Linked DNA regions of Homo sapiens: all the other regions are linked to region 3. Evidence: promoter capture Hi-C in human tissues and cell types (Jung and others, 2019). All regions are on one chromosome and are shown on one strand. The core of a region is centred on a gene start or on the middle of the fragment in contact, and the rest is flanking DNA. Distances in the headings are between cores, read along the strand shown. Region 1 holds the start of NDUFB7 (NADH:ubiquinone oxidoreductase subunit B7). Region 2 holds the start of OR1I1 (olfactory receptor family 1 subfamily I member 1). Region 3 holds the start of RAB8A (RAB8A, member RAS oncogene family).

Evidence for each region. Contacts are between HindIII fragments. The study calls those that stand out against the background at their distance.
Region 1: a contact is called between the fragment with the promoter of NDUFB7 here and the fragment with the promoter of RAB8A in region 3, in 2 of the 25 tissues and cell types used here (H1 embryonic stem cells and dorsolateral prefrontal cortex).
Region 2: a contact is called between the fragment with the promoter of OR1I1 here and the fragment with the promoter of RAB8A in region 3, in 1 of the 25 tissues and cell types used here (heart left ventricle).

What each region holds. Positions count from the first base shown.
Region 1 is chr19:14,570,808-14,574,876 of GRCh38, forward strand. It overlaps NDUFB7 (NADH:ubiquinone oxidoreductase subunit B7), which reads right to left and starts at 1,259. Exons shown (of 3, transcript NM_004146.6): 1 at 1,082-1,259. The coding sequence starts at 1,193. RefSeq lists an enhancer at 1,191-1,480. The HindIII fragment of the contact is 12,939 bases long and covers 1-4,069 here.
Region 2 is chr19:15,079,613-15,083,667 of GRCh38, forward strand. It overlaps OR1I1 (olfactory receptor family 1 subfamily I member 1), which reads left to right and starts at 2,599. Exons shown (of 2, transcript NM_001004713.2): 1 at 2,599-2,664. The HindIII fragment of the contact is 16,029 bases long and covers 608-4,055 here.
Region 3 is chr19:16,109,350-16,113,894 of GRCh38, forward strand. RAB8A (RAB8A, member RAS oncogene family) reads left to right here and starts at 2,540. Exons shown (of 8, transcript NM_005370.5): 1 at 2,540-2,676. The coding sequence starts at 2,553. RefSeq lists a silencer at 1,923-2,582. The HindIII fragment of the contact is 16,619 bases long and covers 1-4,545 here.

The DNA.
Region 1 (4,069 bases), core at 9-2,508, 1.5 Mb before region 3:
GCTGGTGCTCGGTATGCCTGTGATATTACTACATTAAAAGCAAAAACAAACACACGAACCAAAAAACCATCCTGGGCGTAGTGGCTCACATCTTCAATCCCAGCACTTTGGGAGGCTGGGCAGAAGGATCGTTTGAGCCCAGGAGTTTGAGACCAGCCTGGGCAACACAGCAAGACCCCCAACTCTACAAAAAATAAAAAATCAGTCTGGCATCCTGGGGCGCTCCTGTAGTCCCAGCTACTCGGGAGGCTGAGGCGGGAGGATCATTTGAGCCCAGGAGGTCGAGGATGCAATGAGCTGTGATTGTGCCACTACACTCAGCCTGGGCAACAGAGCAAGATCCCGTCTCAAAGCAAAACAAAGCACTTTGCAGGACAGTATTTGCAGCTCGAATCTTCCTTATTTCCTTGTGCATACCCCACAATTGCAGTGACATCAGGAAGGGGGTACAATGAACGTGTCCCTGCCCTCCCATGACTCCCCACGTCCCCCAAGACTTGGCCCGAGGCCGGGCGTGGTGACTGACTTCTGCGATCCCAGCACTTGGGGAGGCCGAGGCGGGCGGATCACTTGAGGTCAGGAGTTCAAGAGCAGCCTGGCCAACAAGGAGAAACCCCGTCTCTACTAACAATACAAAAAAGTAGCTGGGCATGGTGGTACACATCTGTAATCACAGCTACTCGCGAGGCTGAGGCAGGAGAATCGCTTGAACCCGGGAGGTGGAGGCTGCCAGTGAATCGAGACCAAGCCACTGCACTCCAGCCTGAAAGAAAAAGCGAGACTCCGTCTCAAAAGAAAAAAAAAAAAGACTCGACCCAGCTCTGCGCGTCGCATTCCTGCCCGAACCCCCACTTGTCGCCTCACTTTTGCTCCCTGGCTTTTGCTCAAGCCGTGCCCTTGGGCTGGAACGCCTCCACACTGAGGTGGGGTCATGCACGTCCTGTGGACTCCTAGTCTAGACCCAAACCCAGATACAACACCTGAGGTTAGAGCCCAGCCCTGGGGTGCCAGCCCTGGGGTGCCAGGTGTTCAGGCACCCGCGCCCCACGCCCTCTGGCTGCGCCTGCGCACTGGGCCTCACCGCGCTCCTTGCGTTCGGGGAAGCCGTAGTCTGGCGGGAAGGTTGGCATCTGCAGGGGGTCGGGCTCCACCGAGGCATCGCCCAGGTAGCGCCGGACCAGGTGGGCCCCCATGGCTGCAGTCGCTGCAGATCCCTGCAGCAGCCGAGGGTCACCTAGCTCCTACCCGGAACCACTGACCCCTCAGTCAGACACAGCTTCCGGGTCATTTAGGCAGCTGCGGAGATCATAGAGATGAAGGACTCCAGAGGATCGCTCCGGTCCGCCTGGCGTCACCTCGCGGACAGGCGGAGGCGGGACAGGTGCTGTGTCTCTTCGCAGGATATGGTTGGACCCGAGAGGGGACTTCCCTGAGCCTGGAAATCCATCTGGGCGGGGCAGAAGGGGACGGTGTGGGACTGAGGCCTCCCTCGACCCTATCTGGGGCTCTTCTGGTAGCCCGAGGCTAAAGCACATATTAAAATTATTTTTCATATCATTTTCCAAAAAGTTTTTTCTTTGAAAACATTCAAATTTCTCTTAAAAAAGGCACGATATCTATTATATCGTTAATGTATGTAATTTTGCATAAAGTCACTTTAAGAATTTTTTGTTTTTGGAGACACAGTACCTGTCGCCCAGACTGGAGTGTATTGGCGCGATCTCGGCTCACTGCAGCCTCCACCTCCTGGGCTCAAATTCTCTTGCCTCAGCCTCCTGAGTAGCTGGGATTACAGGCGCCCGCCACCACCCCCAGCTAATTTTTGTATTTTTAGTAGAGACGGGGTTTCGCCAGTTGGCCAGGCTGGTCTCGAACCCCTGACCTCAAGTGATTCCCCCGCCTCAGCCTCCCAAATTGCTGGGATTACGGGCATGAGCCACAGTGCCTGTCCAAGAAAGATTTTGATAAATTTAATTTAAATAAAAGTTATTCATAAATACAGTTATTATTATATTATTATTTTTTGAGATAGGGTCTCATTCTGTCGCCCAGGCTGGAGCACAGTGGCACAATCATAGCTCACTGCAACCTTGAACTCTTGGGCTCCAGGGATCCTCCCGCCTCAGCCTCTCAAAGTGTTGGGATTATGGGCGTAAGCCACTGTGCCTGGTCAAAAACAATTATTTAAAGCTGAAATTTCAAATAAATTATATATATATATGCAATCTTTATACAATTTTAAAATATATTAATATCTAATATTAATATCTAATATATATTTTTCCCCAGTCTGACAAAGCATGTATTAGGCATCTACTGTATGGTATGCTGGGTCCAGTGGTCAGACAGAAAGGCAGACGTGGTTCCTGTCTTTCAAGCTTACAGTCTAATGGAACAGAAAAACAGTCTAATGGAAAAAAAAAAATATGGGCCAGGGCAGTGGCTCACACCTGTAATCTCAGAGCTTTGGGAAGCTGAGATGGGAGGATCGCCTGAACTCAGGAGTTTGAGACCAGCCTGGGCAATATAGGGAGACTCTATCTCTACAAAAAAAAAAAAAAAAAAAAAAGCTGGGTGTGGTGGTGCACGCTTGTAGTCCCAGCTACTCGGGAGGCTGAGGCAGGAGGATAACTTGAGCCCAGGAGTTCCAGGCTGCAGTGAGCCGTGATCCCATCACTGCACTCCAGCCTAGGCAACAGAGTGAGACCCTGTCTATAAAAATTCCCAGGTGATGTGATGTTGCTGGTCTAGTGACCAGCTTTGGGAGAATTACTCAACTAGATCTTTATGTGTTGACATGGGGAAGTGGCTGCTGATATATTAAGTGAAAAAAGCAAGCTATTGAGAATAGACAACTGGCAATAGAGACTTTTCTTTTTCTTTCTTTTTTTTTTTTTTTTTTGAGACAGAGTTTCACTCTTGTTGCCCAGGCTGGAGTGCAGTGGTGTGATCTCGGCTCACCGCAACCTCCGCCTTCTGGTTTCAAGCGATTCTCCTGCCTTAGCCTCCTAAGTAGCTGGGATTACAGGTGGGTGCCATCACGGCCAGCTAATTTTTTTTTTTTTTTTTTTGAGACGGAGTCTTGCTCCGTTGCCCAGGCTGGAGTGCAGTGGCGCAATCTCGGCTCACTGCAAGCTCCGCCTCCCGGGTTCACGCCATTCTCCTGCCTCAGCCTGCCGAGTAGCTGGGACTACAAGCGCCCGCCACCACGCCCGGCTACTTTTTTTGTATTTTTAGTAGAGACGGGGTTTCACCGTGTTAGCCAGGATAGTCTTGATCTCCTGACCTTGTGATCCGCCCGCCTTGGCCTCCCAAATAATTTTTTTGTATTTTTAGTAGAGACGGAGTTTCATCATGTTGGCTAGGCTGGTCTTGAACTCCTGACCTCAGGTGATCCACCCGCTTCGGCCTCCCAAAGTGCAGGGATTACAGGCTTGAACCACTGCGTCCAGCTGAGACCTTCTTTCCAGGGCTACCTGTGTGACCTGTCCCTATCTCCAGGCCACCACATTAATCTGTGATTCTTGTGCCCTTCTAGACTCAAGGGGGCAGCATTCACATTGTGATCTCTATGAATGGTGCTTCTGGAGTTGTGCCGTGCACAGCCTGCACAGCTGCATCCAGTAACCCTGACGTGTTCTGGGCGTGTCTCCTTAATCTTCCTTTCTCTGTGCTTCAGCTGCTCACCCAGAGGTCAGAGCTCAAAGGGAGTCCAGAGAGGCAAATTACAGTACTAGCTCACTTTCCCTGTGTGACCCCCAGAAGTGACTTCATTTCTCGCAGACTGAGTTTACTCATCTGTAAGATGAGGTTTGTAATACCTATCTCATAATGTTCCCAGCCAGCGAGGGCTCCCCTCCTCCTGATGGATTCCACCCCTTTCCTGGCTTTATTTTTTTATTTTTTCAAGACAGGGTCTTGCTCTATTACCCAGGCTGGAGTGCAGTGTCATGATCTCGGCTCACTGCAGCCTCTGCCTCCTGGGCTCAGGCGACCCTCCTGCCTCAGCCTCCCGAGTAGCTGGGATTCCACGTGCGTGCCACTACGCCCAGCTAATATTTGTATTTTT
Region 2 (4,055 bases), core at 1,349-3,848, 1.0 Mb before region 3:
TTGACCACTGCCACATCAGGAGCCCTTGACCCTTGCCAGAATTCAGGAATCCCCATCTCTCCTAGATTCTAATCAAGGAAGAAAATCAGGGACTATATAAAAACCTTTTAGGTGTTGGATTTTAAAAAAAGCATTTGTGCTTGGAAGAATGGGTGGAGAGTGGCTGAAGCCCAAGATGCTGAGAGAAGAAATCTGGACCTCACTCCTAGAGAGGATAGAATGAAGTAGACCACCCCCTTCTTCCTCCCTCCCAATGTTCATTGATGGTTTCCTGGTACCAGACTCATTGCCACATAAAGACTCTAAGATTTTCCCAAAGCAATCAGCACTGGACTCCAAACCAACATGACTAGAAAACTGGACTCTGGGAGTGTATAACTGGCCCTGCCTTATACCAATTTCCCAGGGGGGGAAATGTTATTTTTGATAACATTTTCTATAGAGTCATATCAAAAAGAAAGGCTTTTTTCTTCCTGAATATATCTTTTATTCCTCCTTATCTCTCTTCACTCTTCCTTCTATAACTGGTTTCAGAATTCCCAGGAGAGTTCGGATGGGAGACACCAATGTCCTACCTACCATGGCTTTGGGCAAAATAATTTTTTTTCAGAACCACGGACAGTGGCAAAAGTTTGTTCACCCAGTGGGACTTTTTTTTTTTTTTTTTTTTGAGATGGAGTCTTGCTCTGTCACCCAGGCTGGAGTGCAGTGGCACAATCTCGGCTCACTGCAATCTTCGCCTCCCAGGTTCAAGTGATTCTCCTGCCTCAGCCTCCCAAGTAGCTAGGATTACAGATGCCCACCCACCATGCCCAGCTAATTTTTGTACTTTTAGTAGAGACTGGGTTTCACCATTTTTCCCAGGCTGGTCTCGAACTCCCGACCTCAAGTGATCCACCCGCCTCAGCCTCCCAAAGTGCTGGGATTACAGGTGTGAGCCACCATGTCTGGCCACCTTATGGACTTTTTAGGTGGGTTTTTCCCCAACCTTTGGGCTCAAATTGATTTTTTTTTTTTTTTTGAGACAAGGTCTCACTCTGTCACCCAGGCTGGAGTGCAGTGGCATGATCTCAACTTGCTGCAAACTTCACCTCCCGGGCTCAAGGGATCCTCCCACCTCAGCCTCCTGAGTAGTTGGGACTATAGGCACGTCCAGCTAATTTTGTATTTTTAGTAGAGACAGGGTTTCACCATGTTGGCCGGGCTGGTCTCAAACTCCTGAGCTAAATTGATCCACCTGCCTCGGCCTCCCAAAGTGCTAGGATTACAGGTGTGAACCACCATGCCCAGCCTCTGAAAATAATTTTAATTTTAAAAAAATAATGACAGTGGGATTGGCACCTACTCATATCCCCATATGTCCAACGCGAAGTTGGTCTACCTTGTTCTTGCTTTGAAGCTGACCTCCCCACAGAGTTACGATCCAAGAGCCAACAGTCCAACAGCCAATATTATTAGGGAAAGTAATTCTAATATTTACTAAAGCCCCTAGGAGAATTTCAACAAGTATCCTACACACGTTCTGTGTGGCTGATAGGAAGGATTTTTTTTTTAAGAGACAGGGTCTCACTCCGTTGTCCAGGTTGGAATGCAGTGGTGCGATCACAGCTCACTGCAGCCTCAACCTCCAGGGCTCAAGTGATCCTCCCACCTCAGCCTCCTGGGTAACTGAGACCACGGGCATGTGCCACCAATCCTGGCTAATTTTTTTAAATTTTTTGTAGATATAAGGTCTTGCTGTTTTGCCCAAGCTGGTCTCAAACTTCTAGGCTCAAGGGATTCTCCAACCTTGGCCTCCCAAGTAGCTAGGATTATAGGCATGAGCCACCGTGTCCAACTCCAGTGCCAAGCAGGTGATCAAGAAGTGTTTGATAGGCCGGGTACAGTGGCTCAGGCCTGTAATCCCAGCACTTTGGGAGACCGAGGAGAGCAGATCACTTGAGGTTTGAGATCAGTCTTTCCAACATGGTGAAACCCTGTCTCTACTAAAAATACAAAGACTAGCTGGGCATGGTGGTGGGCACCAGTAATTCCAGCTACTCAAGAGGCTGAGGAGGGAGAATTGCTAGAACCCAGGAGGTGGAGGTTGCAGTGAGCCGAGATTGCTCCACTGTGCTCCAGGCTGGGTGAAAGAGTGACACTCCATCTCAAAAAAAAGTGTTTGATAAATTTATTTATTTAATACCGATTTATTGATTGATTGATACTCTTCGGAGCTTTCCTTAATGAGCCAGTTTCTTCCATAATGCAATGAATGAAAGGACCTCTCAGATTCAGGCATCTGAGTGCCCGACTGGAGTCTGGGACCCCCCAGACCTCTCTGCCTGGGAGCTTCCATGAAGCTCAGCCTGAGCTGGAAGGAGACCGTAGGGAGATGTCCTAGTGAGAGTGAATCCCTAGTCACTGTTTCCTCTTCTTACCCACTCGATGATCCCAAAGCACACCCATCTCCAAAAGAACAGGTCACATGTGGCAGAGGAGAAACAAAATAATTAGCATCCGCTTCCTTAACAAGGAGCTATGGGGACGAAGTCTCCTAGAGTCCCCAGACTATAAATACCCTGATGTTCCCCTGGCTCCCCCACTCACCTGCAGAGTCTGGGGGCGGGGGGGTACACATATGAATCCTTCCCATAGACATCAGGCTAACCCCAGCGATCACAGGTGAGTAGCCCCCATGCCCTTCCTAGGGGTTTAGTGCTGACCTCGGGATCCTCTAGCAGTTGGTGGAGAAGGAGGCTTCCCGGGACCCTCCCCTTGGTGATGCCATCCTGGTGAGCAGGTGAGGGATGGGGAAAGGATTGAGCTGAGGGTGGGGGTGGAGGGTTGTGGGAGAGGAATCTGTCTCCTTCCTAGAGGCCGAGAGAGAGAGAAGAGACTGAGACCAAGTCTAGACTCTCTGAGTGGACAAAGCACGCAGACGGCAGACCCTCTGTGGCAGGATATGTGGAGGAAAAGCACTGAGGGTCTGCAGCTGCAGGACACCTGCACAGATAGGAGAGGTCTTGAGAAACAAGTTTCTCCAATGCAGCAGCTCCCCAAGTGTGGTCCCTGGGCTAGAAGCACCAGCATCCTCTGGAAACTATCTAGAAGTGCTGGTTCTTACACCAGACATTTCAGGGAAAGGGCTTAGCTTTTTGTGTATGATGAGTTTGGGAGCGGGGGGGAGGGGGCGGGGGGATTGTTTTGTTTGTTTGTTTGTTCTTTCTGTTTTTGAGACAGGGTCTCGCTCTGTTGCCCAGTCTGGAGTGCAGTGGCATTATCATAGCTCATCGCAGCCTCGACCTCCCAAGCTCAAGTGATCCTCCCTCCTCAGCCTCCCGGGTACCTGGGATAACAGACATATACCACCATGCCTGGCTAATTTTATTTTCGTAGAGGCAGGGATCTTCCTATGTTGCCCAGGATGGTCTCACACTCCCGGGCTCAAGAGATCCTCCTACCTTGGCCCCCCAAGCAGCTGGGACTAACAGGTGTGTGCCACCATGTCCAGCTAATTTTTTATTTTGTAGAGATGGGGGTCTCACTGTGTTGCCCAGGTTGGTCTCTAACTCCTGGACTCAAGGGATTCTCCCACCTCAGCCTTCTGAGTAGCTGGGACTATGGAAGCATGCCACCATGCCCAGCAGATTGTTTTATTTTTTGTAGATCCAGGGCGGGATTGGGGGTGGGGTGGCCTCACTTTGTCTGCCAGGCTGGTCTTGAACTCCTGGCCTCAAGCAATTCTCCCACTTCAGCCTCCCAAAGTGCTGGGATTACAGGTGTGAGCCACCATGCCTGGCCCGCTTTTTGTGTTTTAACAAGCCTTCCAGGTGACCCTGAAGCGTGCTCAAGGTTGAGAACCGCTGCTCTATGCAACCCAAGTCAACAACTGAGGACTGTTACAAATATGTTGCCAGGAAGGGAATCGCAGTATTCTATCCAGCCTAGAGAAAACCAAGCATTGCATTGCAAAAACCTCAAGTCCAACACTAAAAAGCCTCAAAAAGTTAACATAGGGCTTTGCTGAAGGCCTCTTGGGGTTACCAAGGAGATTATGCTGCTAACCTTCCTAA
Region 3 (4,545 bases), core at 1,290-3,789:
CCAAGCTACTTGGGAGGCTGAGGCAGGAGAATCGCCTGAACCCGGGAGGCAGAGGTTGCAGTGAGCCAAGATCGCGCCATTGCACTCCAGCCCTGGTGACCGTGAGAGACTCCATCTCAGAAAAAAAAAAAAGTCAGGGTCTTGCTCCGTCGCCCAGGCTGGAGTGCAATGGTGCGATCACAGCTCACTGCTGCCTTGACCTCCTGGGCTCAAGGGATCCTCCCACCTTAGCCTCCTGAGTAGCTGGGACTACAAGCATACACCACCATACCTGGCTAATTTTTTAAAAAAATTTTTTGTTTTTTGAGATGGAGCCTTGCTCTGTCACCCAGGCTGGAATGCAGTGACACAATCTCGGCTCACTGCAACCTCCGCCTCCCAGATTCAAGCAATTCTGGTGCCTCAGCCGCCTGAGTAGCTGGGACTACAGGCGCACATGACCACACCTGCCTAGTTTCTGTATTTTTAGCAGAGATGGTGTTTTACCATGTTGGCCAGGCTGGTCTGGAACTCCTGACCTCAGGTGATCCACCTGCCTTGGCCTCCCAAAGTGCTGGGATTACAGGTGTGAACCACCTCGCCTGGCCAAAAAACTTTTTTTTTTTTGCAGAGATGGAGGTCTTGCTATGTTGCCCAGGCTGGTCTCCACCTCCTGGCCTCCAATGAACCTCCACCTCAGCCTCCCAAAGTGCTGGGATTACAAGCGTGCACCATGACGCCCAGCTAATTTTATTTGTTGTAGAGATGGGGATCTCCCTATCTTGTCCGGGCTGGTCTTGACCTCCTAAGCTCAAGCAATCCTCCTGCCTCCCAAAGTGCTGACTCCCAAAGTGCTGGGATTACAGGCCTGAGCCACCACACCCAGCTGCAAGCCCGATTTTCCAAATGTATCTCTCCTCTGTTTTTCTCTTTCTTTTTTTTTTTTTTTTTTTTTTTGAGACGTAGTCTCATTCTGTCGCCCAGACTGGAGTGCAGTGGCGCGATCTCGGTTCACTGCAGGCTCCGCCTCCCGGGTTCACACCATTCTCCTGCCTCAGCCTCCCGAGTAGCTGGGACTACAGGCGCCCGCCACTACTCCCGGGTAATTTTTTGTGTTTTTAGTAGAGACGGGGTTTCACCGCGTTAGCCAGGATGGTCTCGATCTCCTGACCTCCTGATCCGCCCGCCTCGGCCTCCCAAAGTGCGGGATTACAGGCCTGAGCCACCGCGCCCAGCCTTTTTTTCTTTTGATAGGGTCTTGCTCTGTCGCCCAGGCCGAATTGCAGTGGGGCGATCACGGCTTACTGCACCCTCAACCTCCTGGCTTCCCAAAGCACTGGGATCACAGACGGGAGCCAACGCCCCGGCCAGTTTTTTCAACGTTGAGAGCCCTGGCCCCTAGATAGGACCCAGCATCCTCACTGCTCTAACCCCTCCCCCCCCACCATCCCCGGGCTGGCCCGGACAACCCCTAAGGTGGCCGAGGGCGGGCCCTGAGGAGGCCGGCGCGCGCTTCCGGGCACAGCTTGTGGCGGTGAAGCCGCTCAGATGGCGGAGGCCTTGGGTATCTCTAAGCAGATCGCTAGGCCGCAGACCTCGGAGCTCGTCTTGGGTCACTTTTATTTATTTTTTTTGAGACGGAGTCTCTCTCTGTCGCCCACGCTGCAGTGCAATGGCGCGATCTCGGCTCACTGCAAGCTCCGCCTCCCAGATTCAAGCAATTCTCTGCCTCAGCCTCCCGAGTGGCTGGGATTACAGGCGCCCGCCACCACGCCCGGCTAATTTTTGTATTTTTAGTAGAAACGGGGTTTCACCATCTTGGCCAGGCTGGTCTTGAACTCCTGACCTCGTGATCCACGCGCCTCGGCTTCCCAAAGTGTGGGAATTAAAGGCGTGAACCACCGCGTCCGGCTTGGGTCACTTTTCGAGTATACAGCTCCTCCTCTCTCCTTCCTCCCTAGGCCCCCACTGCCCCGACTCGCAGGCCGCAGACAAGGCTGAGAGCGCTACCTTGCTTTCCCGCGCTCGCCTCGGTGCCTACTGCGCCTGCGCGAGCTGTGAGGGCGGGACCCAGAGACACCCGCCCCAACTACTGGCGTGCGCCCTCTGCTGTCGCCTAACGGAACTCCGGGCGCGCGTGCGCACGCACCCCAAGCCACGCCCCGCCAGGCTGCCGGCGCGCGAGCGGTTGGCGCCGCTCCCTGCCTTCCCTCTCCTACAGTGGGGCGGGGCCGGGCCGCCCGAGTCGGGGGTGGAAGGCGGGGGCCACATAATGCCACGCCCCCGCCTCGTCCCCATTTGAAGCCCCGCGACTCTTCACTGCTGGTCAATCAGAGCCCGTGCTCTCCCTAGTGCCGGCCAATGGGAGGTGCGCTCGGGCTGCTTCCGGCTCCGCGCTCCGCTCGCCCCCTCCCAAGGTCTCCCCGCGACTGGCGGGACGCAGGGGCGGGCGTCGGCCGCGGTGACGCGCAGCGGGCCTGGAGCCAATAAGGGGCGGGCTCGGTGCTGATGGACGGTGCTGGTGGCCAGTGGAGAGGCGCTGGCCGCACTTCCCGTCGGGGAGAGAGTGTAATATGGCGAAGACCTACGATTACCTGTTCAAGCTGCTGCTGATCGGGGACTCGGGGGTGGGGAAGACCTGTGTCCTGTTCCGCTTCTCCGAGGACGCCTTCAACTCCACTTTTATCTCCACCATAGGTAACGGGACCGGGGAATGGCTGGGGGCGCCGGAGGCCCGGGCTGGGCGCGCCCCTGAGGGGCTGGGGCTGAGGGATCTACAGGGCTGGACGGGCCGAGGGCGCTGAGAGGGTCGAGGGGGCCTAAAGGGAGAAGAGCAGTCGCCTGCACCGCCGTTCGGGGGTTCCTGGGCCGTGGTGGGGGAGACCAGGTGCCCATTTTGCAGATAGGGAGACTGAGGCTCCGACCCTCAGCCCGCTCGTTAGGGCGTGTTATGTCTTGGGCTGGGGTCTTCGCGCCCGTCCTCTCGATCTGTCCTAGCAGCAGCCCTCGAAGCGGTTCTTTTGAGGCTCTTGCCTTACAGAAGTGGAAACTGAGTCATGGGGAATTGGCCATGGGAAAAAGACAGTGGCATCTCACCTTAATGAGCATTTACTATGTGCCAAGTGCTTCACGTGCATTTTCACACTCTTCAGTTCTTGGTGTTAAGTGCTGTTATGAGCCCGTCTGACAAGATGAGGAATCTGAGGCTCAGGGAGGGCATGGAACTTGCCCAAGGCCACACAGTCTGCACGTGGTGAGAATGGGATTTGATGGAATTTGAACCTGGCTGTGTCTCAACCCAAAACTCGAGGCTTAGCTCTCCTAGAGAGATGCCACTGCACACTCCCAGCTGATGACAAGCTCAGCTAATGCACCTTGGAGCCGGGACTCTAACCCACACCATTCCTGCTCTTTTCTCTGGAGCGTTCAGAGGTTGAGCCCCTCTCCCTGACCATGCTTCCCCTCATAAGCGTATTTTCCTCTAGAAGGAATGATAAGAAGAGTCAGGACCTTTTCCCTGCCCACCTTTCATCCTGCTCCAGGAATGACAGCAATGGCAAGTGACAGCACTGCCTGCCCTGGGACCTGTCATCCCCAAGAAGATGCAAGATAAAAGCCTCAGCGAGAAACTAAATCAGCCACTGCCACAGACAGCCTTGACTTCCCTATCAAAGGGCCCAAGACTCCAGCTGTCACTTTAGAACAGCTTTTCCTGTAGGGCCAGCCCACATTGTGGTTGAACAGAATTGGCTTGGTGCATCTCAGTTGTGATGTCCACAGAAGTGGAGCTGACCTCTCTCAGTGCCACAAAAGCAGTCCTGGCCCACAATGAAAAGGTTTGACCCAGGAGTAACACCTATTTGAGTGGCTTGTGAGCTCTGTAGCCCTGCTAGGGATGGGGAAAGTGGGGGAACGGTCACTAAGTCCAGGAGTTTATTCCGACTCAAGAAAACCTAGGGAATGGCCTTTGCTTTACTGTGTCACTTTGACAGAATCGTGTTATCTCCCTGAACCCCAAGATAATGTGCTAATTCCATTCTTGCCCTCCTCCAGGAGCTATGCTTTATTTATTTTATTTTATTTTATTTTTTGAGACGGAGTCTAGCTCTTTTGCCCAGGCTGGAATCCAGCGGCAGGATCTCGGGTCACTACAACCTCTGCCTCCCGGGTTCAAGCAATTCTCCTGCCTCAGCCTCCCTAGTAGCTGGGATTATAGGCACCCGCCACCACGTCCAGCTAATTTTTGTATTTTTAGTAAATACAGGGTTTCACTGTGTTGGTCAGGCTGGTCTCGAACTCCTGACCTTGTGATCTGCCTGCCTTGGCATCCCAAAGTGCTGGGATTACAAGCATGAGCCACCGCACCCAGCGGAGCTGTGCTTTATAAAACAGTTATATGCCAGATGTAAAATAGAGAGAATTGACTGGAAATCATTACGTCTGGTTTCCAGTTGCTGTTTGCCCTTGAATGTGCACTACCCCTCTCTGAGCCCTGCTGTCTTTAGAGCAGGAGTGACACTGTCTGCCCAGCCTAGTGCCCTGGTGGTTGAGGATTAGAATTAGACA